7 separate regions of the Homo sapiens genome follow, and all the other regions are linked to region 4. The links are contacts of gene promoters, found by promoter capture Hi-C in blood cells and fetal thymus (Javierre and others, 2016). All regions are on one chromosome and are shown on one strand. Each heading gives the region's core, a stretch centred on a gene start or on the middle of the fragment in contact. The rest is flanking DNA. Distances are from core to core; before and after follow the strand shown. Region 1 holds the start of LOC101927069 (a long non-coding RNA gene). Region 2 overlaps TJP2 (tight junction protein 2). Region 3 overlaps TJP2 (tight junction protein 2). Region 4 holds the start of PIP5K1B (phosphatidylinositol-4-phosphate 5-kinase type 1 beta). Region 5 has its middle 51 kb from the start of FXN. Region 6 overlaps PIP5K1B (phosphatidylinositol-4-phosphate 5-kinase type 1 beta). Region 7 overlaps PGM5 (phosphoglucomutase 5).

Evidence for each region. The method cuts DNA at HindIII sites, captures the fragments that hold promoters and counts their contacts. A CHiCAGO score of 5 or more calls a contact.
Region 1: a contact is called between a fragment that was not itself captured here and the fragment with the promoter of PIP5K1B in region 4, in 15 of 17 cell types (naive B cells, megakaryocytes, total B cells and 12 more). The highest score is 25.1, in naive B cells.
Region 2: a fragment that was not itself captured here is called in contact with the fragment with the promoter of PIP5K1B in region 4 in 1 of 17 cell types (erythroblasts); the score reaches 5.6 in erythroblasts.
Region 3: a contact is called between a fragment that was not itself captured here and the fragment with the promoter of PIP5K1B in region 4, in 3 of 17 cell types (erythroblasts, megakaryocytes and monocytes). The highest score is 14.2, in erythroblasts.
Region 5: a contact is called between a fragment that was not itself captured here and the fragment with the promoter of PIP5K1B in region 4, in 1 of 17 cell types (erythroblasts). The highest score is 5.3, in erythroblasts.
Region 6: a fragment that was not itself captured here is called in contact with the fragment with the promoter of PIP5K1B in region 4 in 16 of 17 cell types (megakaryocytes, erythroblasts, total B cells and 13 more); the score reaches 40.2 in megakaryocytes.
Region 7: a fragment that was not itself captured here is called in contact with the fragment with the promoter of PIP5K1B in region 4 in 1 of 17 cell types (neutrophils); the score reaches 5.1 in neutrophils.

Annotation. Positions count from the first base shown.
Region 1 is chr9:68,974,764-68,978,071 of GRCh38, forward strand. The region is part of intron 14 of PIP5K1B (phosphatidylinositol-4-phosphate 5-kinase type 1 beta); the gene reads left to right. LOC101927069 (a long non-coding RNA gene) reads right to left here and starts at 1,078. Exons shown (of 3, transcript NR_110647.1): 1 at 901-1,078. The HindIII fragment of the contact is 1,160 bases long and covers 1,293-2,452 here.
Region 2 is chr9:69,207,830-69,211,260 of GRCh38, forward strand. All of the region lies in intron 1 of TJP2 (tight junction protein 2), which reads left to right. Among named protein-coding and RNA genes, the nearest start is that of TJP2, 35 kb to the left of the region's middle. The HindIII fragment of the contact is 7,567 bases long and covers 1-3,431 here.
Region 3 is chr9:69,185,638-69,188,860 of GRCh38, forward strand. The region is part of intron 1 of TJP2 (tight junction protein 2); the gene reads left to right. Among named protein-coding and RNA genes, the nearest start is that of TJP2, 13 kb to the left of the region's middle. The HindIII fragment of the contact is 1,080 bases long and covers 819-1,898 here.
Region 4 is chr9:68,703,258-68,706,510 of GRCh38, forward strand. PIP5K1B (phosphatidylinositol-4-phosphate 5-kinase type 1 beta) reads left to right here and starts at 1,983. Exons shown (of 16, transcript NM_003558.4): 1 at 1,983-2,505. RefSeq lists enhancers at 1,497-2,422, 3,111-3,200 and a silencer at 1,841-2,360. The HindIII fragment of the contact is 6,803 bases long and covers 1-3,253 here.
Region 5 is chr9:69,085,026-69,088,302 of GRCh38, forward strand. No RefSeq gene overlaps it. Among named protein-coding and RNA genes, the nearest start is that of FXN, 51 kb to the left of the region's middle. The HindIII fragment of the contact is 1,127 bases long and covers 704-1,830 here.
Region 6 is chr9:68,995,162-68,998,577 of GRCh38, forward strand. The region is part of intron 15 of PIP5K1B (phosphatidylinositol-4-phosphate 5-kinase type 1 beta); the gene reads left to right. Among named protein-coding and RNA genes, the nearest start is that of PRKACG, 17 kb to the right of the region's middle. The HindIII fragment of the contact is 1,813 bases long and covers 792-2,604 here.
Region 7 is chr9:68,430,084-68,433,080 of GRCh38, forward strand. The region is part of intron 6 of PGM5 (phosphoglucomutase 5); the gene reads left to right. Among named protein-coding and RNA genes, the nearest start is that of PGM5-AS1, 74 kb to the left of the region's middle. The HindIII fragment of the contact is 3,981 bases long and covers 1-2,997 here.

The sequences.
Region 1 (3,308 bases), core at 623-3,122, 270 kb after region 4:
TATAATTACAGTGTACATCTGTGAGAGCGAAGCTGCTTTTCTAATCTGTTTTCATATTATTTTTTCAGCAGCTTCTGCAGACCTAATAGTAATTTGGGTTTTGACTGAAGGATACCACTTACATGCTGAGGGTGCTCATTTCAACCCTGTGTGTTTTTAGCACATTGACATGGTGACAACCTGAGTAGAGTCTGAAAGCTAAGGCACAAACACTATCTAGCAATTCCTGGTCACTAATAAAGGTTTAAAAAATGTTTGTTGGATTTTACTGAAGAAGGGCCTTGCTTTTTGTTCTGGGTTTTTGTTTGTTAGGTTGGCTGGTTTTGAGACAGTTTTGCTGTGTCACCCAGGCTGGAGTGCAGTGGCACGATCACAGCTCGCTGCAGCCTCAGCCTTGTGAACTCAAGCAGCCCTCCCACCCCAGCCTCCCAAGTGGCTGGGACTATAGGTGTGTGCCAGCATGCCCAGCTAATGTTTATATTTTTTGTAGAGACAGGGTTTCGCCATTTTCCCCAGGCTGGTCTCAAACTCCTGGACTCAAATAATCTACCTGCCTTAGCCTCCCAAAGTGCTGGGATTACAGGCATGAGCCACTGCACCCAGCCACGTCTTACTTTTTAAAGACAGAAAATGTAGTGTTTAGCAAGAAATATGAATTGTACTTTTTTTCAGTTGCCTAAAATATAAACTTCCTAAAAGTTAAGGTGTTTATTTATGAATGCATGTCAGTGAGAAGTTCTTTTTTCCCAAGGTGGTGTTATGGAGGGAAAGTCAGTGAGTCAGCCTATTTGCCGAGGCCAGCTTGTCCTTCAGGCATTTATACCACCAGTATTAGTTTGCTAAGCTGCCCTTACAAAGTACCATGAACTGGATGGCTTAAACAACAGAAATTTGTCTCACCGTTCTGGAGGCCAGGAGTTTGAAATCCAGGTATCAGCAGGGTTTTCCCTCTGAGGTTGTGAAGAAGAATCTGTTCCATACCTCTCTGCTAGCTTCTGGTGGTGTGCTGGCCGTCTTTGACATTCCTTGGCTTGTAAATCTCTGCCTTTATCTTCCATGGAGCTTTCCTTGTGTATTTGTGTCTCTATGTCCAAACTTCCCCTTTTTATAAGAACACCAGTCATACCGAAGTAGGACACACCCTATTCCACTATGACCTCATCTTAACTAATTATGTCTGCAACAAACTCATTCCCAAATAGGGTCACATTCTGAGGTACTGGGGGCTAGGACTTAAACATATGAATTTTAGGGAGATGCAATTCAACCCATAACAACATGGCTCTGAATAAAGCTTTGTTTTTCTGAGTAATTTTTGTTTGTTTGAATCTGACAGCAGCAAGTATAGAGATTGCAGAGTATCTGGCAGCAAACCACTATCCATGGGAATTATGCCATTGAGGTGTAGTACAGAGAAATAATAGTGCTTAGGCCAGGAATTGTTTCCTGTTCACTGTGTCTTAAACCTTTATTGGTTCCATTAGCTTACACAGCAAAAGGCATTTCCAATTCAGCATATTTTATTTCCAGTATGCCACTCTGATCTCAAACTTTAGTTAGAGAAGACCAACTAAGGCTAAGAATCAAAACTTTTGGAAGCTAGCAAGACCTGATCAAATCCAAACTCCTGATTTTTACAGAGAAGGGAACTGTGGAGTACAGGAAAATTCAATGTCTTACCCAAATACAGTACTCACAGCTACTTAGTGCCATGTTGCTACCACAACCCCACTACCCTGCCTCTTGCTGTAGCTCCTTCTTTCACATATTGTACTGCTCCTCTGAGCCACAGGGGCCATCGGTGCCCTATGACAGTGGTCCCCAACCCTTTTGGCACCAGGGACCAGTTTTGTGGAAGACAATTTTTCCATGGATTGGACGGCAGAGTAGGGATGGTTTCAGAATGAAACTGTTCTGCCTCAGATCATCAGGCATTAGATTCTCATGAGAAACACAAAACCTAGATCCCTCTCATGAGCAGTTCACAATGGAGTTCATGCTCCTTTGAGAATCTAATGCCACCACTGATTACTGCCTAAGGCAGAGCTTAGGCAGTAATGCTCACTCACCCACCACTCACCTCCTGCTGTGCGGCCTGGTTCCTAGCGGGCCACAGACCAGTAACAGTCTATGGCCTGGGGGTTGGGGACCCCTGCCCTATGATTCAAAAGGTCCCAATTCCTGTTGCCTTCATGGTGCTTTTCTCTAGCTAGAGAACACAGTCAACCCTGTTTTCAATGTGTGCTGTCTACCTGGGAATGTTTCATGGATGGCCCATACTGCCATTTTTTAAATCTACCTAAGCCTCACCTCTGGGATCTACCTAAATATATTCTCTCTTAATTCCATGGATATGAGCTCTAGGAAGGGAACTAATTATAATGTTAGACTCTGCCACATATGAACAGTAAAACACATTGTCCTAGAGAGCAGAAGCCATCCAGTATTGTGAAGCTTAATAGAAATTACTTTGATGGGCCTAGCATGGTGGCTCACGGCTGTAATCCCAGCACTTTGGGAGGCCAAGGCGAGCAGATCACCTGAGGTTGGGAGTTGGAGACTAGCCTGGCCAACCTGGGGAAATCCCATCTCTACTAAAAATATAAAAAATTAGCCAGGTGTGGTGGTGCTTGCCTGTAATCCCAGCTACCTGGGAGGCTGAGGCACAAACATCGCTTGAACCCGGGAGGCAGAGGTTGCAGTGAGCTGAGATTGGGCTACTGCACTCCAGCCTGGGTGATAGAGCAAGACTTTGTCTCAAAAAAAGAAAGAGAAATTACTTTGATGGTGAAGGTTTTTATTTTGGTTTGCTGTTGTTGTTGTCTTGGATGTTATTTTGGTGGCGTATTTTTTTGCATTTATATATTTCATAATCATATAATTATTGGCTTCTTTTTTTTTTTTTTTTCGAGACGGAGTCTCGCTCTGTTGTCCAGGCTGGGGTACAGTGGCATGGTCTCGGCTCACTGGAACCTCTGCCTCCCAGGTTGAAGCGATTCTCCTGCCTCAGCCTCCCGAGTAGCTGGGATTACAGGTGTGTACCACCACACCCAGCTAATTTTTTGTATTTTTAGTAGAGATGTGGTTTCACCCCAGGCTGGTCTCGAACTCCTGACCTTGTGATCCACCCACCTTGGCCTCCCAAAGTGCTGGGATTACAGGCGTGAGCCACCGCGCCTGGCCTATTGGCTTCTTTTTAACATTTATTATTAATATATATCTCCTCAACTTTTGGGGGTTTTTAGGGTTTTTCCCCAGCTTTATTGAGGTATACTTAACAAATAAAAATTATATATATTTAAGGTGAT
Region 2 (3,431 bases), core at 677-3,176, 500 kb after region 4:
GCCCAGGGATGTTCCTAGAGCTGATGTTCTGAGGAATAAGGATGATTATGTGGGGTGCTCTGTGTTTCTGAAAAATTATATAAATGAGGCAGGAAAGACACTCAGTAGTTTGCTCTTTGGGTACACTTGTAGTTAGTTGGTAAGCTGCCCAAGGGCTTTGGCGATTTTATTCACTGATGTCTCTGAAGTGCCACAAACCACTTGCTTGGCAGAAGGTGGATGCTTAATAAATGTTTTTGCATAAATGAACAAATGAGTGCACAGTGAAGAGTTTTCTGTGAGACCTTCCCAAAAAGTCACAGTTCTGTAGGCTAAATATACATAGTTATGGTGTATTTTTAATGTTCAACAGAGCTACTAAAATTTATTTTTGCTCTAGTTCCCTTCCTTTACAATTAAGATTTTCTCTTTATCACTTGGCTTAGCAGAGCATATATTCTTTGAATATTATGTTAAGTAGCTAATAGTTAATTTTATTACCCGTTAACCATAGGTAAGAAGAAGCCTCGCAATCTGATTGGTTTCAGGCACCAGGCAAGTTAATAGCAAGGTCTGATTGGTGGTGGTAGTGGTAGGAGATTAATCGTCTCTCTGACAAATTTAATTTAAATTACGCTTGCAGGCATCACAGGACACTTAAAGATGGTAGCATCCCATTATTGAAGGGCTGTGAATTTCAAAAGCCAGATTCATTCTACTTGAGCCACATTTAAAAAATAAAATTTTGCAGGAACTCATTTATTTGGCTAAATGATAAACAAATTTAAATCCAAAACTTTGAAGAGTTTATAGTTTTAAATTCCAAAATAGAAATGTATTTTAAAAGTAATGTACTCATAAAAATATTCTCTATAATAGCACAGCTCCTTGGGATATTCAACATTTTTTTGGTATGTAGCATTGCCCAATCCTGGGGATGATTGTCATAGTCCCAGTTAGTTTTTTTTCCTGATAATTTTAAAGTAAGTTTTGTGGGGAGGATGTCATGTAATTTTTTTTCCCCCTTAATTCATGGGGCTATAACTATATCCAAAGAAGAGTTGGCAAATATATTTATTTTACCACAACTTCTAGATTAATTCACTTTGTTGAAATTTGACAGCTTTAAGGTACAAGAAGGCATTGAGAAGATGAGCTTGGAGAAGTGGGCATGCTCATAAGGTCATTTCTGGGTGGTAGTGGCTTAGTTTTACTAAGGCCACATCTAAAACTGAAGTTGGCAAGGAGTTAGTAAGGTGTTCTATGGAAATGGAAAAGGGCAACCAATTCTGACTTACTGCAGGAGTTCAGTTGAGTGTCTGCTTTCTTTTTCTTTTCTTTCTTTATTTTTTTTGAGACAGAGTCTCACTCTGGAGTGCAGTGGCGCAATCTCAGCTCATTGCAACCTCCACCTCCCAGGTTCAAGTGATTCTCTTGCTTCAGCCTCCCAAGTAGCTGGGACTACAGATATGCGCCACCACGCCCGGCTAATTTTTTGTGTTTTTGGTAGAGATAGGGTTTCACCATGTTGGCCAGGCTGGTCTTGAACTCCTGGCCCCAAGTGATCCACCTGCCTTGGCCTCCCAAAGTGTTGGGATTATAGGCGTGAACCATCACGCCCGACCCGGTTTCTGCTTTCTGTTTCCATTTAAGAAAACTTTTTGGCCGGGCGTAGTGGCTCACACCTGTAATCCCAGCGCTTTGGGAGGCCGAGGTGGGCGGATCATCTAAGGTTGGGAGTTTGAGACCAGCCTGACCAGCATGGTGAAACCCTGTCTCTACTAAAAATACAAAAATTAGCTGGGTGTGGTGGCGCATGCCTGTAATCCCAACTACTCGGGAGGCTGAGGCAGGAGAATCGCTAGAACCCAGGAGGCGGAGGTTGCAGTGAGCCCAGATCGTGCCATTGCACTCCAGCCTGGGCTGGAGCAAAACTCCATCTCAAAAAAAAAAAACAAAAAAACTTTTTAACAAATATGTACAACTTCATTAAAATATTGGAAAATTTATTGTGCTTCCACATATTGGAAAATGCTGTTTTAGACACATGCAGAATTCCAGAGAGGTATGGCTATAGAGCACATCTAGAAAGTCAGACCATGAGCACCTGAGTTTTTAGTTCACCCACCTCACGTATGCTATCAAAGAAGCAGAGAGCCACGAATTTGATACAAACTTTCTTTAAGAAAATTTGTAGGCTGGGCACGGTGTCTCACACCTGTAATCCCGGCATTTTGGGAGGCTAAGGCAGGCGGACCATTTGAGGTCAGGAGTTTGAGATGAGCCTGGCCAACATGGTGAAACCGTGTCTCTACCAAAAATACAAAAAAATGAGCTGGGTGTGGTGGCGCACAACTGTAATCCCAGCTACTCGGGAGGCTGAGGTATGCGAATCACTTGAACCCAGGAGGCAGAGGTTGCAGTGAACCTAGATCACACCCCTGCATTCCAGCCTGGGTGACAGAGTGAGACCCCGTCCCCCCCCCCCCCCAAAAAAAAAAAAAGTAGCAGCAGTCAGTGCTTCAGTTATATTAATTGAATGATGAATGAATAGTGTATCCATCTCTAGATGTATTAAAAAGAAAAAACTTTGAGTGCCTACTCTGTGTGCCAGACACTGTTGTAGCAGATAATGGGACAAAGATGAGTAGGATACAAAAATTTCACCTGAAAATTCACTTTTATTTTTTAAAATTGAAGAACAGTCGTCACAGTGAACAGACTTTAAGTAATTGGGGAGTTTTACATAATTTAGATAATAATCTTTTGGAATGTTTACATATTTCCTTGTGTTGATGGGCCTTCATTTAATCTAAATCTTGCACTTTTGGGCTGCTTGCGTCCCTGGCACCCCAGGCCCCATTCACCACCCAGTCCCAGGATTGCTGGTAGCACAGATCTCTTCTTCTGGCCTTTTTCAGGTATTTTGAGTTCTTTTTTTTTTTTTTTTTTTTTCTTATTAAATATACAGATGGGGTCTCACTATGTTGCTCAGGTTGGTCGTAAACTCCTGCACTCAACTGATCACCCCGCCTCAGCCTCCTGAGTAGCTGGGACTATGGCATGTGCCACCATGCCTGGCTAACTTTAAAAATTTTTTGTAGAGATGGGGTCTCACTATGTTGCACAGGCTGCCCTTGAACTCCTAGGCTCAAGCGATCCTCTCGCTTCAGCCTGAGTGCTGGAAATACAGACGTGAGCCACTGCACCCAGCCCTCTTCTAATTTCTTAAAACATAAACACATAGTCCGGGTGGCTTGGTGGCTCATGCCTGTAATCCCAGCACTTTGGGAGGCCGAGGCAGGTGGATCACAAGGTCAGGAGTTTGAGACCAGCCTGATCAACATGGTGAAGCCCCATCTCTACTAAAATACAAAAATTAGCCGGGCGTGGTAGTGCGCACCTGTAATCCTAGCTACCCAGGAGACTGAGTCAGGAGAATCGCTTGAACC
Region 3 (3,223 bases), core at 109-2,608, 480 kb after region 4:
AAAGTCATTCCACTTTATTATTAATAAAATAAAAGGTAATATATAAATCTGGCTGATAGATGGGGTTACTTTTTTCCCTGTCTTTAGCTTCCTTTGTGTTCTGATAAATGAGATGGAAGATTTTTATCATATTTTGTACCTCAAATCTCTCGCGGAGGGAACACTGTAGTCTACCAAAACAGCTGGCAGAAGTGTCTGTCCTATTATAAGTTTATTTTATGAAACATGAGCTATAATGTAGTCCTTTTTTTTTTTTTTTCTTTTTTTGGAGACGGAGTCTCGGTTGCGCCTGGCTAATTTTTTGTATTTTTTAGTAGAGATGGGGTTTCACCGTGTTAGCCAGGATGGCCTCGATCTCCTGACCTCATGATCCGCCTGCCTTGGCCTCCCAAAGTGCTGGGATTACAGGTGTGAGCCGCCGCGCCCGGCCAATGTAGTGGTTTTAAGACATTTAAAAATCTTGAACCAATGTTGGCAACAGCCTGTCTGTAATGATGTCACATGTGGAAAGAACCGAGTTTTTCTTAACTTTAGAATGTGAATTTTTTCCTCCTTCAAATACTTTTTCCTATAACCCAGACCTATTTTACTTTCCAGGGACCCTACTATTACTGCCCTAAGGTAATTTGCTAGAAATGGAGTGGTCAAGATGTATTGATTAACGTTTTAGGCATACTTCTGTAGTACTACTTCCGAAGGCTCCTTGCAGAGAAATTTGAAGTGATAAGGAAGGCAAATATTCGAAATGGAAAGATAAGTATAACCAGTGACTATTTCAGCCACTGGTTTAGCAGTTCAAGTGAGCTGGCTGTTTGTAAAGCTTGCTTAGTAAATGAATGTGCTAGAAATATATTGACAGAATTTGGTTTTATCTCTTTTTCTCCAGACTTTTAGTCGGCCAGGGCTAACAATGGATGTCCAAACAGTTTACAGTGGCTGATACACAATGCACAAAGGGCTTCACTGTTTGGAGACTGGAAAATAGAGCCAGAGGGGAGCTTCTTATGGGCATTGACCTAATTCACTCCTTTTGGCAAAAATGCTTGGTTTTAAATCAATGTATGTATTTCTGACCCAAATATCTATAAATATTTCAGCTAGTAGTGTTACAGCTGGAGGAAGGGACCCGTGGTGTTGCTTCGTGTATTTTGATTTGACAATATTCTTTAGAAATAAATTGTCAAGTGAACTAATATTACACAAAAGTTAGGGAAAGTTAAGAGAGGCAGCTGAAATTCCATCAGTTTCCTCCTTAGTCCCTGGAACCTCCCCACAATCAGGAATTTGTTAGTCACCTGGTTTTTAAAGATAAATTTCTCTGTGGGCGTTTCTGCTGAGAAATGTGGGGAAACAGGACTGGGCTAAAAATAAAATTAGTTCAGGCATTGCTAAACTTCTAAGTATCATGTTTGTGATGTACTTTTCCAGGAAACATAAATTGGCAATATTTTTGCTCCTTTTTACTACCACAGAAAGAATATTTGCAGTCAGCATGCACGGCCTGAAAGAATCTCTCTCGCCTATTAATAGAACAGAAGGAACATACACATGTCTATGTGGGGGAAAAACATCTCATTTGGCTTAGTAGTAAGCTCCAAATAACAATTGCATTGTTGTTCTGAATTGTCTTTGAGTGTGATTGGATGATTAAATATAAATGTTGACCTGATTGGATTATATCACAGCAATGAACTGTCCTGAAAAAACAGCTGTAACATACCACTCCAGACTGTTACCAGACTTAGTCGGCTGGCTTTATATTTGTGTTGTCAAAACTGGGATGCTGTCATTTCTGTTTCTCTGTCTCTTTCGTCTGTTCCAATTTGAGATATACTGACTATGTTAGTGTAGTCTGCTACATGGATAGTCCTTTATCTTTCAGCAACATAAGCAACATAAGCTTTTTGACTGAGACGAGCGTAATCAAAAGGAATGCTGGGAAACAGTGAACTGTAAAAAATGTCCTCAATTAGATACAGGCTTCAGTGCATGGGTTTATCCTTTCAGAAGATCGGTGTGTTTTCAGTGAGGGTCTAAACCCACTGGCCTGGATTCCACCTCTTGTTGGATGGGTGGTCAGTTTTAACATTAGGGGGTGTTGATTGTGAGCTCTTGAGAGCAGGGCTGGTTCTTTGCATTCCTAGGTAGGCATGATGTAGAGTAGTTGCTCAGTAAATAGGGGAAGGTGAAAGGAAGAGAAGGGAGAAGGTGAGTCTCAAAAGACTGGAATGTGATAAGCACACGTTTATCACACTGGGGGTGTATTCTCTCCCTTTTCTTAGAGTATTCCTTGCCTCCTGAAAAAAGCACTTTGCAGGAAATATGGAGATCTTCTGAACCTGTGGCTTTGTGTTATTGGACTGAGAAGTCCAAAATGTGCATTAGCGGAGCTTATAGAACTGCTCTGAGAATGTGTTCTTGAGTTCTACAAATATTATGGGGTGCGTTGGGGGCTGGCTCACTCCAGCTCAGTTCCCATGTGTTAAGTGGAACTTCTGATCTGTTGAATGCCTAACCATGACGGAGCCCAGGAGACAAAGTAAGGTGTGGTTTGTTTTGCTGTAAGACCACGTTTGGTTAGCTTTTCTCTAGCAAAGCTGGGGAAGGAGATCACAGGGCTGATGTGGTGGTAGGCCCTTGGTGTAGATCTCACTGACTTTTCCCAGTCAACTAGGAGTAAATGTTAACCCTATTTTATAGGTGGGAAACGGAGGCTCAGAAACATTAAGTAAATTGCCCAGTGTCACACGGCTTGTGTGACAGGGAGGGGATTTGAGCCAAGGTCCATTTGATGAATTTGAAACCTGTAGATTCTGTCAATTCCACCAGTCTCTGCTTTTTAGAATCACAGTGGCAAGAAAATAGGAGAAGCTCAAGGCCCTGTGTTGATTATTAGGAGTTTAAACATCATCGCTGAAAGTGCATAGAAATATTTGTATTCCTAGAGAATCTTAAGTAAAAGTAACATATCAATGTTGTCAAGAGATGTCTTCATTCATCAGAGACCTCTGTGTGTTCATTACTGTATGAGACCCCAAAGACTCTAAGTTGCCTCTAAGACACAGCCTTACAGGGAGGTATTAAGTGATTATGTATACAGCTAGCTAAAACCACAACTTTATTATAGAAATATTAAGAATATGTCTTATCATGTGAGAGTATTCTTTCTTCAAGTCCATAGCCTCCAGTTAGAAATGGCTGTGTTGTCCCATCAACCCCTTCA
Region 4 (3,253 bases), core at 733-3,232:
TAATGCAATCGTAAGGCTCTTGGTAGAGTTCCTTAGAATCCTGCTTCATAAAGTTAGCTCTCTAAATAGCCAGTGGGCAGTCTGGTTGGACACTTCTCTCTGAAAACCTAAGGCTGTTTGCTTTTGGGCTTTACAGAAGTGGCTCAATACCAGGCTCATTAATGGGAAAAGGGTCATGTGTATGGATACATGTATTTGGACATTTATACGTAATGCGTGATCACTTTTGATCCAATGTTTGGCTTTACCTGTCTTCATCTCCCCTGCATTACCAGAAACTGACTTTGCACTTTCACTTACCACCGCCTCCCTGGGAGGCAAATTCATTTTCCACTCTGGATTTCATAGCTGAAGTCTGAGAAGCAGGAAAAGGAGAGACTGGGATTACCATTCCCAGATTCCAAACTAGCCTGCTAGTTACAGCGGTATGATGCTGCCCCCTATACAGTGATTCGTACCAGTCAGATGAACGGTTCTTTGATCGGTTCTTCTGTCCTCCACCACTGGTCTATCCACCCCATCTTGAACTTTGTTAATACAATATTTCTGCTAGTTATTGTTCAGGGATTGAGAGTCAGGGAAACTGTGTTCTGGTCCTTGGGTTACTTAATGTCTTGAGACCTTAGTTTCCTCATCTGTAAAGCGGGAGGGCTGGACTAGATGTATGTTCCTCCTGCTCTGAGCTGTGAAGCGTCTAGGATGCCAGGAGAAAACCAGACCCAAGTCACAGGGTTCTAAACAAACCATACCTTAAATCTCTCAGTAATGGCCAGCCACATCTGCAAGAAGCAGGCTGGGAAAACAGCTGAAGAATAACAGATATTTGTTTTATTTGTCAATTATGGCTCAGTAAAGCTAAAAAAAAATAGATACTTCTGTTATCAAGAAATTATTGCACTTGATTCAAGGCTGATATTAAACCATAGCAGACTCACTCAAGGTGGGGGGTGAGAGAAACAAAGAGATTACAAAACTGAAAAGAGGTGTTCATTTGCAGAGAACTAAGGGAGTATCCTTCAAACAGAAACTGGAAGCCAGAGATCTCTGAAGATAAGGATCATGAAATGTTGTTATTCCCCAGACAGAATGTATCCCACGTTTTCCACCGGCGTTGTTTTTGGTAAAGAAGGGTAAGTGGAAGGAAGTGATGAGGCTGAAAAATACCATTTGCTTCAATTCAGCCGCGAAGGATCCGCTACCTTTTGGTTCCTATTAAGTGAATTTAGCTTTAGCTTTCATGATAGCATTTTCCCAAAGGAGTCCTTTAGATCTGACCCCTACCCTCTTCGCAGCTAGACTGACATCAGGTGACGTTGCAAGTGCCCCCAGCCCACTAAGCGCTATCAGTAGGAATTGGCCCTCAGCCCCGTCACAGCGCTTTCCCATGACATCCCCCAGCTTCTCTCTCCTAGGACCTCCTCGCCAGCCTACCCCTACCTGTTGGGTAGGTCTTACTTGCTGGGAACACCTGCTGTCCTTAGAATGGGAGCAACCAACGCCTTGGAATCCTGGCCTGTCCCTTCCTCGTGAAGGGGGCGCCTGCGCTCAAGTGCCGGCTTCGCCGCCTCAGGCAGAGTCTAGCAGGCGGGCGACCAGGCGTAGCTGAGTTCTGTGGCCTGGGGAAAGGGGACGCCCTATCCCCACAGCCCTGTTTCGCAGGGCTTCAAGACGCTGAGAACGGCCGGGAACCCCTGGAGTCTTGGAGGCACCCGCCAATTCCAGGGGCCCACCCCAACCCCGCTCTCAGTCTGGGCCAGCGGCGGCGGGACAGGCGCCCGGTCCCCACACACCGGCTGAGACGCCCAGCCCACTGCGGCTGAAGCTCCGGCCGCTGTTGCGGCAGGTGCTGCAAACCGGTCTGCCTTCGCTGCAGGGCTTGCGGGGATGGGGCAAGTGGGTGGAGAGAAAAGGGGAAGAGCCTGGGCGGCCGGCAGGCGGGGCCTGCAGCCTCCCCAGCCGCGGCAGCCGCCGCGCAGCCGGCTCTCTCTGCGCCTCGCTCCGACTCCGGCGCGCACCAAGCGGGAACCCGCGCCCGAGCCCGGCGGGCGCCGCTGCTGCTCCTCTCGGTCCCCGGTTCCCGGTCCCCGAACGCGCCGCGGCGAGGCTGCGCCCGGCAGTGGAGCCGCTCGGAGCTGCTGGGCTTTGGCGGCCGCTCGCTGCTCCGTCTGGCCGGAGGACCGGCGGGGAAGGAAGGGGAAAGCGGGGACACACACACTCGCCGCGGCGCGCGCGCACTGCACACTCGTAGCCGCGCGCCCCCGCCAAGGCGCGTCCGGAGCGAGTTTGGCCCCGCGGCTCCAGCCCCGGCACCTGCCCGCCCTCAGCGTTGCCCCCGGCCCCGGCCCCGCCCGCCGCCCCCTCCGCCCTCCCGCCCCTCCCGCCCCTCCCGCCCCTCGCCTGCACTGCTCTCCCTTCGCTGTGGGGAAGCGACAACGTCCCGATAACTTGCAGACTGTGGCGCAACTGGTCTTGGTAGCGGAGGCACCCGAATGCTGCCCGGGTGAGGTAAGTTTCCTGTGCGTCCCCGGCCCCTTCCCACTAGACCCTTCTGAGGGGCTTGCGCTTAGGGGCTCTGCATCTCTGCTGAAACCCGTCGGTCTCTCTACCCTTCCACTTTGCCTGTCTGCGTTGTGCTGGGGGTGACGTGGAGAGGGCGCCCGTGGCCACCGAAGCGGACCTTCGTTCCGCGGGGGCCACAGCTGCGCGCTCCCAACGGACACCCACCCGCTCGTCACCCGGATCCCCGGGGCCGCAGTGACACTCGGAGATCACTCTGGGTTCACTTAAATAGGAGTACTCTCCCCTTTTCCGGGGAACCTGCAGAGTTTGGCAGCGGAAGGAAAGGTCTCCCACCACCCTCCCCCGGTACGAAACAGCGGTGAACTTGTTAGGCGCCCTGGTATCTCAAGAGGGGCTTGCGAGTTGGTGTTCTGCTCATTTCTGGCGCTGGTGCCGGATTGAACAGGTGCGGTATGGTTCCAGTCTAAATGCAGCAACAGACTTCTGCGTTTCCCAGGCTTTCTCCCCCAGCCTGGTCAACGTGACGCTTCAACATCTGGGGCAGGGGCTGGGAGTGTAGGGGCACTGGGGAGGGAGAATGCCCGGGTTTGATTTACTATGCCGGTGCCAGGAGTCGCCAGAACAGAAGAAAACAAATGTCTGCTTATCTGGCATCTATGCAGATGAGCGTGTTGTCATTTCTTATCCCCCCCAACCCCCAGCTCTCTTGTCTGGTGCCCAGCGTGGCTGAGTA
Region 5 (3,277 bases), core at 17-2,516, 380 kb after region 4:
TATAAACAATAAATTCAAAACTTTAAAAAGAAAACATTTTATTGATAGCTCACTGAATACAAATTTATAAAATATTATTTATGCATTAAGTTTCAGTTACACATTTTCACCCATCATTACAGATGTCATATGGAGTTGCTAGAGTATGAGAAGAGCTTCTTCATCCCAACAGCTTTCAAAGTGAAGAGGCGACTCATGCCTGTAATCCCAGCACTTTGGGAGGCTGAGGCGGGTGGTTCACTTGAGGTCAGGAGTTTGAGACCAGCCTGGCCAACATGGTGAAACCTCGTCTCTACTAAAAATACAAAAATTAGCTGGGCGTGGTGGCGCACACCTGTAATCCCAGCTACTCAGGAGGCTGAGGCAGGAGAATCACTTGAGCCCGTGAGGTGGAGGTTGAAGTGAGCCAAGATCATGCCACTGCACTCCAGCCTGGGTAACAAAGCAAGATTCTGTCTCAAAAAAAAAAAAAAAAAAAAAGTGAACATCTGGGTCCCCCAGATCTCTTCAGAGATATGTAATGTTCTCCTTTTTCCAACTACATAACTCTTTAAGCTGGGTTTTCTTCATATACTCCAATGAAAACAACATATTGCAACAGATGGAATGAAGAGGCAAGTAGAAGAATCCAGCTGTTTTCTATTAAGCCAAACATTACAATTGTCAGCTGAAGAATTCTGAGATTCATAAATTTGGAAAGAAAAGCTTCATTTCTCATAAAAGATTGCAGCCTGCAGGGTGGCCATTCTGACAGGCTAAGAAATGTAGTCTCTGGCCAGAAGCCAAAAACAGACACTGAGGGTCAGAAGAATAAGATGGGCATTTATGCTGAATAGGATGGCCAAATATACATATTCAATAAACTACAGTCATGAATATTCATGAAAGGAGAAACATGCACATGCTCAATTGAGCTTCATGCCTCTCCATGGGACGCGTGTGCAAAAAATGGCAGCATTAGCATGATCAGAGGGTGGAGTTTTCTGTCCTCTGATATCAAAAGGTGAAACAGAGGACACAGAAACCCTCACTGCACATCCTCTGTAAACTGGCCAGAACCACTCCATTGTGGGCAGTCTGTTATCAGGAAGGAATGCTGGTTAGTTGTGCAGAAACTGCAAAAGGAAGGGGCAGTGTCAGACCATTGGTTGATATCAGCGGTGCAGCTCGTCTTTCCAAAGGGCTGGTTTCTGTTTAACCTGTAGGAAGGAAATCCTAATGGCGTTTAGCAATGGAGAGGGTATAACAACACATCATGGCAAGAACTCAGTTTTCAAGGTTTCTCTGGGGTCCCCTTGGCCAAGAGGTGGTGCATCCGTTTAGTCAGCTGGGGGACTTAGGATTTCATTTTTATTTCTCAGAGTTTTATAAAACTCTAAAATAATTATTTGACAGCCAGGTGGGAGGGGGTCCCTGGAGAAACTCCAACCAGCCTGCCTACTAGGGTGGAGCCTTGGGAGTTTGCAGCAGGGAGGAGCCTGGCGCCTCCTCTTCCTATGTGAACCTGGGATTCTAGCAGCCTGGTGGGAAGCACTGTAGCAGGAGACTCTGGCCTTGCAGAGGATCCCTGTTCCCCTCATCCCTTTATTTCCCCTTTTCACTTAATAAAACCCTGCTTTACTCACCCTTTAAACCATCTGCAAGCCTAAATTTTTGTGGCTGTGGGATAGACAAGAACCTTCTCTTTAGCTGAACTAAGGAAAAGTCCTGCAATGATCCCATTCTTCACACCAAATATGTTTTGTTTCAAAAGTATAGTTATTTATCATAAATATGTCATTAATATTGTTAAATCAAATTTAGCCTAAAGCTGCCTCCTTATATAGTTTAAGCTTGACCTAAAGGTTTCTCTGTACTTAGTGAATTGTAGCCTACCCAGATGTGTAAACAAGACTGTGAACTACTCTTGTGACAAACATTGGATTTTGGCCAATCAAAGGAGGTCAACTCTTGACACTGCTTTCAAATAAGGCAAATATTGAGCTGTAAACAATCTGGCTGTTTCTATACCTCACTTCTGTTTTCTGTACGCCACTTTTCTGTCTCTGTCCATAAATGTTCTTCCACCACGTGGCTGTGCTGGAGTCTCTGAACCTACTCTGGCTGAGGAGGCTGCCCAATTCTCAAACTGTTCAATTAAACTCGGTTAAATTTAATTTGTCTAAGGTTTTCTTTTAACCATATAAACAAGTGAGTTTATGATTGTTATGTCTTTTTTCTTTTCTTTTTTGAGACAAGGTCCCACTCTGTCCCCCAGGCTGGAATACAGTGGCATGATCACGGCTCACTGTAGTCTCGCACTCCCAGGCTCAAGCGATCCTCCATCTCAGCCTCCTGAGTAGTTGGGAGTACAAGTGCATGCAACCATGCCTGGCTAATTTTTTTTTTTTTTGTATTTTTTGTAGAGATAGGGTTTTGCTACATTGCCCAGGTTGATCTCGAACTCCTGAGCTCAAGTGATCCTCTTGCCTCAGCCTTCCAAAGTGCTGGGACCACAGGCATGAGTCACCACACCCAGCTATTATTTCTAAATTAATGAACAGATGAACATTTTCAAAATTTCTCAGTTTTAATTTTAAATATGATTAAAAGGATAGATATAACACACAAACAAAAGCTCTATGGAGTCCTCTATAACTCAAGAATATAAAGGGTCCTGAGATTTTTCTTTAAAGAGAACCACTGCACTCTCCTGGCCTACTAGCTCTCCGCAATCCATCCTGCTTCTCCCCTTGGCAGGAGAGACCTGTTCTAGACCCTCAAGGACCCCTCATAACATCACCTAGCTATTATCTAAGGAATCTTTCTCCATTTGGACTTCCCATTTTTTTCTTCCCCCTTTAAGGTCCCCTTATTCTTTTCATCTAATTTTGTGTGCCACCTGCAGAGTCCTTCTTCTTCTTCTTCTCCTTCTCCTTCTCCTTCTTCTTCTCAGAGTCTTGTTCTGTTGCCCAGGCTGGATTGCAGTGGCACGATCTCGGCTCACTTCAGCCTCTGCCTTCTGGGTTCCAGTGATTCTCCTGCCTCAGGCTCCTGGGTAGCTGGGACTACAGGTACCCACCATCATGACTGGCTAATTTTTTTGTATTTTTAGTAGAGACGGGGTTTCACAATGTTAGCCAGGATGGTCTCTATCTCCTGACCTCGTGATCCGGCCGCCTCGGCCTTCCAAAGTGCTGGGATTACAGGCATGAGCCACCGCACCCGGCGACTAATTTTTTTTTTTTTTTTTTTTTTTGAGACGGAGTCTCACTCTGTCGCCCAGGCCGGACTGCGG
Region 6 (3,416 bases), core at 448-2,947, 290 kb after region 4:
AGAAAGAAAAGAAGGAAAGGAAGGAAGGAAGGGAAGAAGGGAAGGGAAGGGAAGGGAGGGGAGGGGAGAAAGAAAGAGAGAAAGAAAGAGAAAAGGAAGGTTTCCAAAGTATCTACCGTTGTTTCTCCAAATTTTGCTGTTTAATCACCTCCTGTACCATAAACTTTCACATTCTTTAAACTTAAATTTTATGGCAGTACATCTAGAAAGTCCTGCACCATTAACTTGTAATTCCAGAATGTGTTTTCATGCTGGAAAATTTTATTTTTTGTTTTGCGTGCTCTTCTAGATCAGAAAGGGTACAGCTCATTGCCCTCCCTTCAGTATTTTCATTTGCATCTCCATATGAAAAAGCAAATGGAGGCCGGGCACAGTGGCTCATGCCTGTAATCCCAGCACTTTGGGAGGCCGAGGCGGGCAGATCACCTGAGGTCGGGAATTCGAGACCAGCCTGACCAACATGGAGAAACCCTATCTCTACTAAAACTACAAAATTAGCTAGGCGTGGTGGTGCATGCCTGTAATCCCAGCTACTCAGGAGGCTGAGGCAGGAGAATGGCTTGAACCCAGGAGGCAGAGGTTGCGGTGAGCCAAGATTGCGCCATTGCACTCCAGCCTGGGCAACAAGAGCAAAACTCCGTCTCAAAAAAAAAAAAAAAAGGAAGAAAGAAAATGGAAAAGAAAAGCACAAGAAAGGAAAACCAATCTTGCCTTTGCATTGTCTCTTTTTTCCTTTTGACATAATTTGAGTGCTCTGAATCACAGCCATCTTTATCTGAAGGGCAGTTGGAAGCTTCTCTAGTGACTTCCTGTACAGTGTTGTCACCAAACGTGGTCAGGTTTCTCTTGTAATGCTTCTTCTCCTTTAAGATAGCATTTCTCTATTAGTAGTTGTAGCCTAATCCCCTAGTGCTTTTATTTATACAGTAATGTATAATACCATTTACCTTTGTGTAAAAATACATAAGTTTAAACCCAAATGACGTATGCCCACCAGATAACATATGAAATATCCTTTTAAGGATCCATCCACACATTATGTGTGTGTGCATTAGGCTAGCTCTCCTGCTTTTTCCTGTAACTCAACATGAAATTAAAAAGGATTGGTGAGTTGAAAAGGCAGCTAATTGTTCCATCATCCTTAGTGAGACATTTAGTTCAGATTTTATGTATCTAGTTATTCTGCATGGCTTTTTAAAGGCCATTCACCTTCACACTGTAGAGTCCCAAGCTATTTGACTCATTTTCAAATATTCAAATCAAGGGAAGTGTTTTCTAAGATGATTTTTATCCAGTGACCAAAGATGTGTTTTTCATTGAATTTTGAGTTGATGACACAGATTAGGGTATTTAAAAGAATACACAGAGATGAGCAGGCTGTATTGATTTAAAATGGGCAATCACGCAGTCTTCATAATAGAGCAAGATTCTACTTTGTAAATAGTCCCAGATATTCTAAGGCACCGGATGCTGTCACAGTGGCTGTTATTTCCGTTTCTAAGGCGGCTTCTTTGCCTGATGTAGAATGCAATTTGGTTTTCGTGGAAAGAGGAACAACCAACAAAAAGCCATTTCTGCTGAAAAGTGTATTGGGAGAGAATATCCTTTTATGACTAGCTGGGAATGGCTGGGTAAGTGGGAGATAATGGGATTGCTTTTTTAATAATATAGAAGTTTGAAAGATGGCTGCCAGAAAACAGTGACTTCCTTGCTTCTACTATTCATACCCAAGGTTATGCCCTTACACTTTCCATATTAACATCCTCTCAATAATATGTACTTTCATCCAGTTTTGCTTCTCTGCAAAATGGCTGTTTGAAATACAAAAATAGCTGTGAGCAAAGGAGAAGAAACAGTTAAGCTGTTTTTTAGCCACGCCAGTATTGGAGATTAGCGCTCTGATGGGCAGCTGTTGGACGGCTTGATTATTTAATGTGTTTTCAGGGTAGTTAATAATACTCTTTGATCATGGGAAGAAGGGTGGCAGAGAAGTGAAAATGATTGAATTAACAGCTTATCATACTATTATGTATGGAAAAAGCGTGAGAAAGAGAAGAAAAACACTTTAAATTAGGTCACAGGGGTCTTAGAAAATTCAGTGGAACTTTTTTGGCAAAAGAAACTGCATTTCTGGATTTGAATCCCTCAGCGTTGAGGTTAATGACTTATATTGGGTCTCTTTAATCATTCCTTGTTGGAGCCAGTATCCGCTGCTTCAAGGGGTGTTTATTTGAAACAGTGGCATTTCTTATTCCTTCTCAGGAGAGAACTCGATCCCCTACCAACCAAAGATGCTGCTCGGGTTTTTGGTAGATTTTAGTGAGAGCAGAGTAGGAAGGAGAAAAGACAAACACTGCGTTTGGTGTAGAAGGCATTTGACCAGAAGCCCCTTTCCTTCTGCCAGGTGATCACATTGTTGAGAAGTGAAGAGATTTTGGAAAGGATAAATTAGGGCCCTTGTTTGTTTCCAGAAATGCTTGGCCCCTAAGTTATTGACAAATAATATTTCTAAGACATGTGGAAGAGCTGAGAAAATGGACCTCCCATTGCCCGAGTCTCACAGCATCTACAAGTTATTCCCATTCTTGAAATAAAAGTGACGCAAGCTTCAAATTAATGAGGCAACCTGTCAGTCTAGATTAGGAGGTCACCCATAGGATTTTTTTAAAAAACAAACAGCATTAAACTGCTGTTTAAGGATTAGCGTAGGGAATTCCAGCTGGAGTTATAAAGGCACACTGGCTTTCCAGTTCAATTAGGCTCAGAGTTAGCAATTGAATGACAGTTTGCAGGGCTGCAGTAGCTTTTTTTCTTTTTTTTTTTCTGTTAGGTCCTAGCTTTACAGTGAATCTTGGCTTGCAGGCTAGCTTGATTTCTACTTTCTTTTTTTCTTTTTTTCTTTTTTCTTTTCTTTTTTTTTTTTGTTTTTCAGACAGGATATCTCTGTTGCCCAGGCAGAAGTGCAGTGGTGCAATCTTGGCTCACTGCAACCTCCACCTTCCAGATTCTAGTGACTCTCCTGCCTCAGCCTCCCAAGTAGCTGGGACTACAGACTCACACCACCATGCCTAGCTGAATAGAGATGAGGTTTCCCCATGTTGGCCAGGCTGGCCTCGAATTCGACCTCAAGCGATCCGCCCACCTCGGCCTCCCAAATTGGGATTACAGGCATGAGCCACTGCACCCGGCTGATTTCCACTTTCTTAAAAGCTAGTTCTGCTCCAGTTTGCCTGGGTCTTTTATTATTATACATCCAGGCGCGGGTTGCCCCTCATTTTTCATTCTTTTCCTCCTAAGACTGGCCTCTCTTCCCTTCCCTTATCCCTCTAGACTCTTCCTATTGCTTCTCTTTGTGGTTTCTATTTTTGTCTTCCTTGTCAGAGAAAGCCAGTGTTTGCCATTTTCTGGAAACTTTC
Region 7 (2,997 bases), core at 126-2,625, 270 kb before region 4:
ATCATTTGAAATGTAGAAATACTCTGAAAAAATAAACATAATTGAAATAGCTTTCAACTATTAATAATTTTAAAAATACATGGTTTCCTTTGTCTCCTCTATGGTTTTGAAATTTAACAATGGGATATTTGTCATCATTCTGCAGGTTGAGTTTTTCAGTCCAGCGTAGAGTGATTGTTTCTGTTTTTATTTTATTTCTAAATTTTTATGCCTGCAGTGGATGTGCGTGAGCTATGGCCTTGGGGCCTAAACAGCTCTGGGTCTCATGGAGAGCGAAATGAGTGCATTTCATGCTTTCGCTTTCCACAATGTTTATTCTGTTAAAGTAAACTCAACTTATGGATGTATCATTGGTTGTAATTATACCATTCACATAAAAGGTAAATAATTTCAAGTAAAATTAGAATGGTATTTTTGTAAATCCTTGTACTTTCCTCACTGACTTTCAAATTTTCCTCTTTCCTAATTTCATCCTAATTTTCTCCAGGCCCAAGGACATTAAAGGCATCCATCAACTTTTCCGGAATCAGGTTTCTCTGGATACCGTTTCTGATTTGGAGGCTTGCAGCCATTTTTTTCCAAGCATAAAAATGGCTTCAACTTTCCATAGTAAGGGAAATCTCAGTAAGGGAAATCATATACCCCTAAGTATATGCATTTTAATTTTCCATGTCTTGTCACTGTTATGATAAAAAAGAACAACAGAGTTTGAAAACTTTCAGTGATTGTAATTTTCTAGTTAGAAGTTTATTTTGTTACATGGTTCTTTCTTTGAATCTCAGCTGTCTTTTGTAATTAGAGTATTCATCATAACATGCATCAACTATTTATATTTTCTCAATAAATAGTCCTTAGCAACCAATTTTGTGCCTTGGTCTCTTTAAAGACAGTCATACAGGTGTCATACCCACCTTTTCCTCTAGAATATATTATAACCTGAATAAATCCTGGGCCTTATGTCACCAAGTTTCAGGGCAGTGTAACATTCAAAGAAACAACCAAAAGCAAATGAAACTCTAAGTTTTGCTTGCAGTCCTCAGAACGCATTAAAAGAGATTCAATTTACAGATCCTAGCCACATCGTCTAAGGTTCCCCCAACTCCACTTCCTCACTGTCACAGCCCATCTGGAGCCCTTGTTCTCCACTGCCGCCTTCCCACTACTCGCCAACACTGTCCACTTTTCTTTGCCTCTTGTATTCTGTTTTTCTAGTCCTACCTCTTTCTTCGCATTCTCCTGTTTCTGTATCACAGGAACCCAGGAGTCAAGTTGGGGTAGACAAAGAAGAGAAGCTGATCAGGCAAAGACAAAATTATCTTTACTGGGAAGTGGAGGCCTTGAGGGTTCAGAGTGAGGCTGCAAATACTCAGATAGTAATATTTTTTTGTAATATTACTGTCACCAAGGCATTTTTACAAAGAACACCAGGATTTAATGCAGCTATTAAAGTTCTTAGTTTACTTTGTTGAACTTTCCAAAAGAGGCAACCTGTCCACAGTTCTGAAGGCTGTGGCAATGGAGTGTGCCCTCAGAGAAACCTCAGGAGATAAAATCACAGTCTTCTTCTAGAATGATCTTATAACAGCTAGAAGGGCAAAATACACTTTTAAGAGTTGGAGTCTATTCCATCTTATAAGGATGGGGGATTTATTAGGACTCTGTGCCAAGATTTTCCAGAATTTCTCTCTAGGAGTAGCTAAAGGAGGGAGCTGTCTGAGAGGGGATTGCTGGGGACAATGAAACTTGGGTTTGAATAGCACTTCATGTAAGATGGAAAGAACATCATTTCTCACAGCAAAGTATTAGGGGTGGGGATGGGGGTGGGTGATCAAGATCAATGCAGTGTCAAAACCTCAGCCCTCCAATCTACTCCTGGAATTTTTACAGAGTGTGAGATGTTTGCAGACCAGGAGGCTTTCTTGCATTTATGCCTCAGGAAATGGGTCGTTTTATAATTCTTGTGGGGTTCTTTTTGTTGTGTTGTTTTTTGTTTTTAAAAAAATCCCTCTTCCTATACAGAATCACTATTAACAGTGGTATGTGACTTTTCAGACATTGTATGTGCATACATCCCCACACACACCTTTATGTTGTTTTTTATTTATTTGTTTTTATTTTTTAATTTTTTTTTTTTGAGACAAAGTCTTGCTCTGTTGCCCAGGCTGGAGTGTAGTGGTGCCATCTCAGGTCACTGCAACCTCTGCCTCCTGGGTTCCAGCAATTCTCCTGTCTCAGCAACCCAAGTAGCTGGATTACACAGGCAAGCGCCACCACACCCAGCAAATTTTTGTATGTTTTGTAGAGACAGGGTTTTGCCATGTTGGCCAGGCTGATCTTGAACTCATGGTCTCAAGTGATCGGCCCACCTCAGCCTCTGAAAGTGGTGAGATTACAGGCGTGAGCCATTGTGCCTGACCATGTTTTAAACAAAAAAAAAAATTGACGTTATATTTACACTTTAATCTGAAATTTGCTTTTTTCAATTTACAGTTTGTCATGAATATCCATGTCAGAATATTTAAATGTACCATTTTTTTTTTGAGACAGTATCTCACTCTGTTACCCAGGCTGGAGGGCAGTGGTGCAATCTCGGCTCACTGCAACCTCTGCCTCCTGGGTTCAAGCCATTCTCCTGTCTCATCTTCCCGAGTAGCTGGGATTACAGGTGCCTGCCACCACACCTGGCTAATTTTTGGTATTTTTAGTAGAAATGGGGTTTCTCCATGTTGGCCAGGCTGGTATCGAACTCCTGACCTCAGGTGATCCGCCTGCCTTGACCTCCCAAAGTGCTGGGATTAAAGGCACGAGCCACTGCGCCTGGCCTAAATGAACCATATTTTTTTAAACAGTTATTTTATTCCGTTATACCATGATGGAATCTTGTACACAATAATTCCCCTATTGTTCAATATATAGGTTGCTTCCAATTTTGCACTATATATACAATACTGCAGTGAATACCCTGCTATGTATATTTTTGACACACCTGCCTTAGTG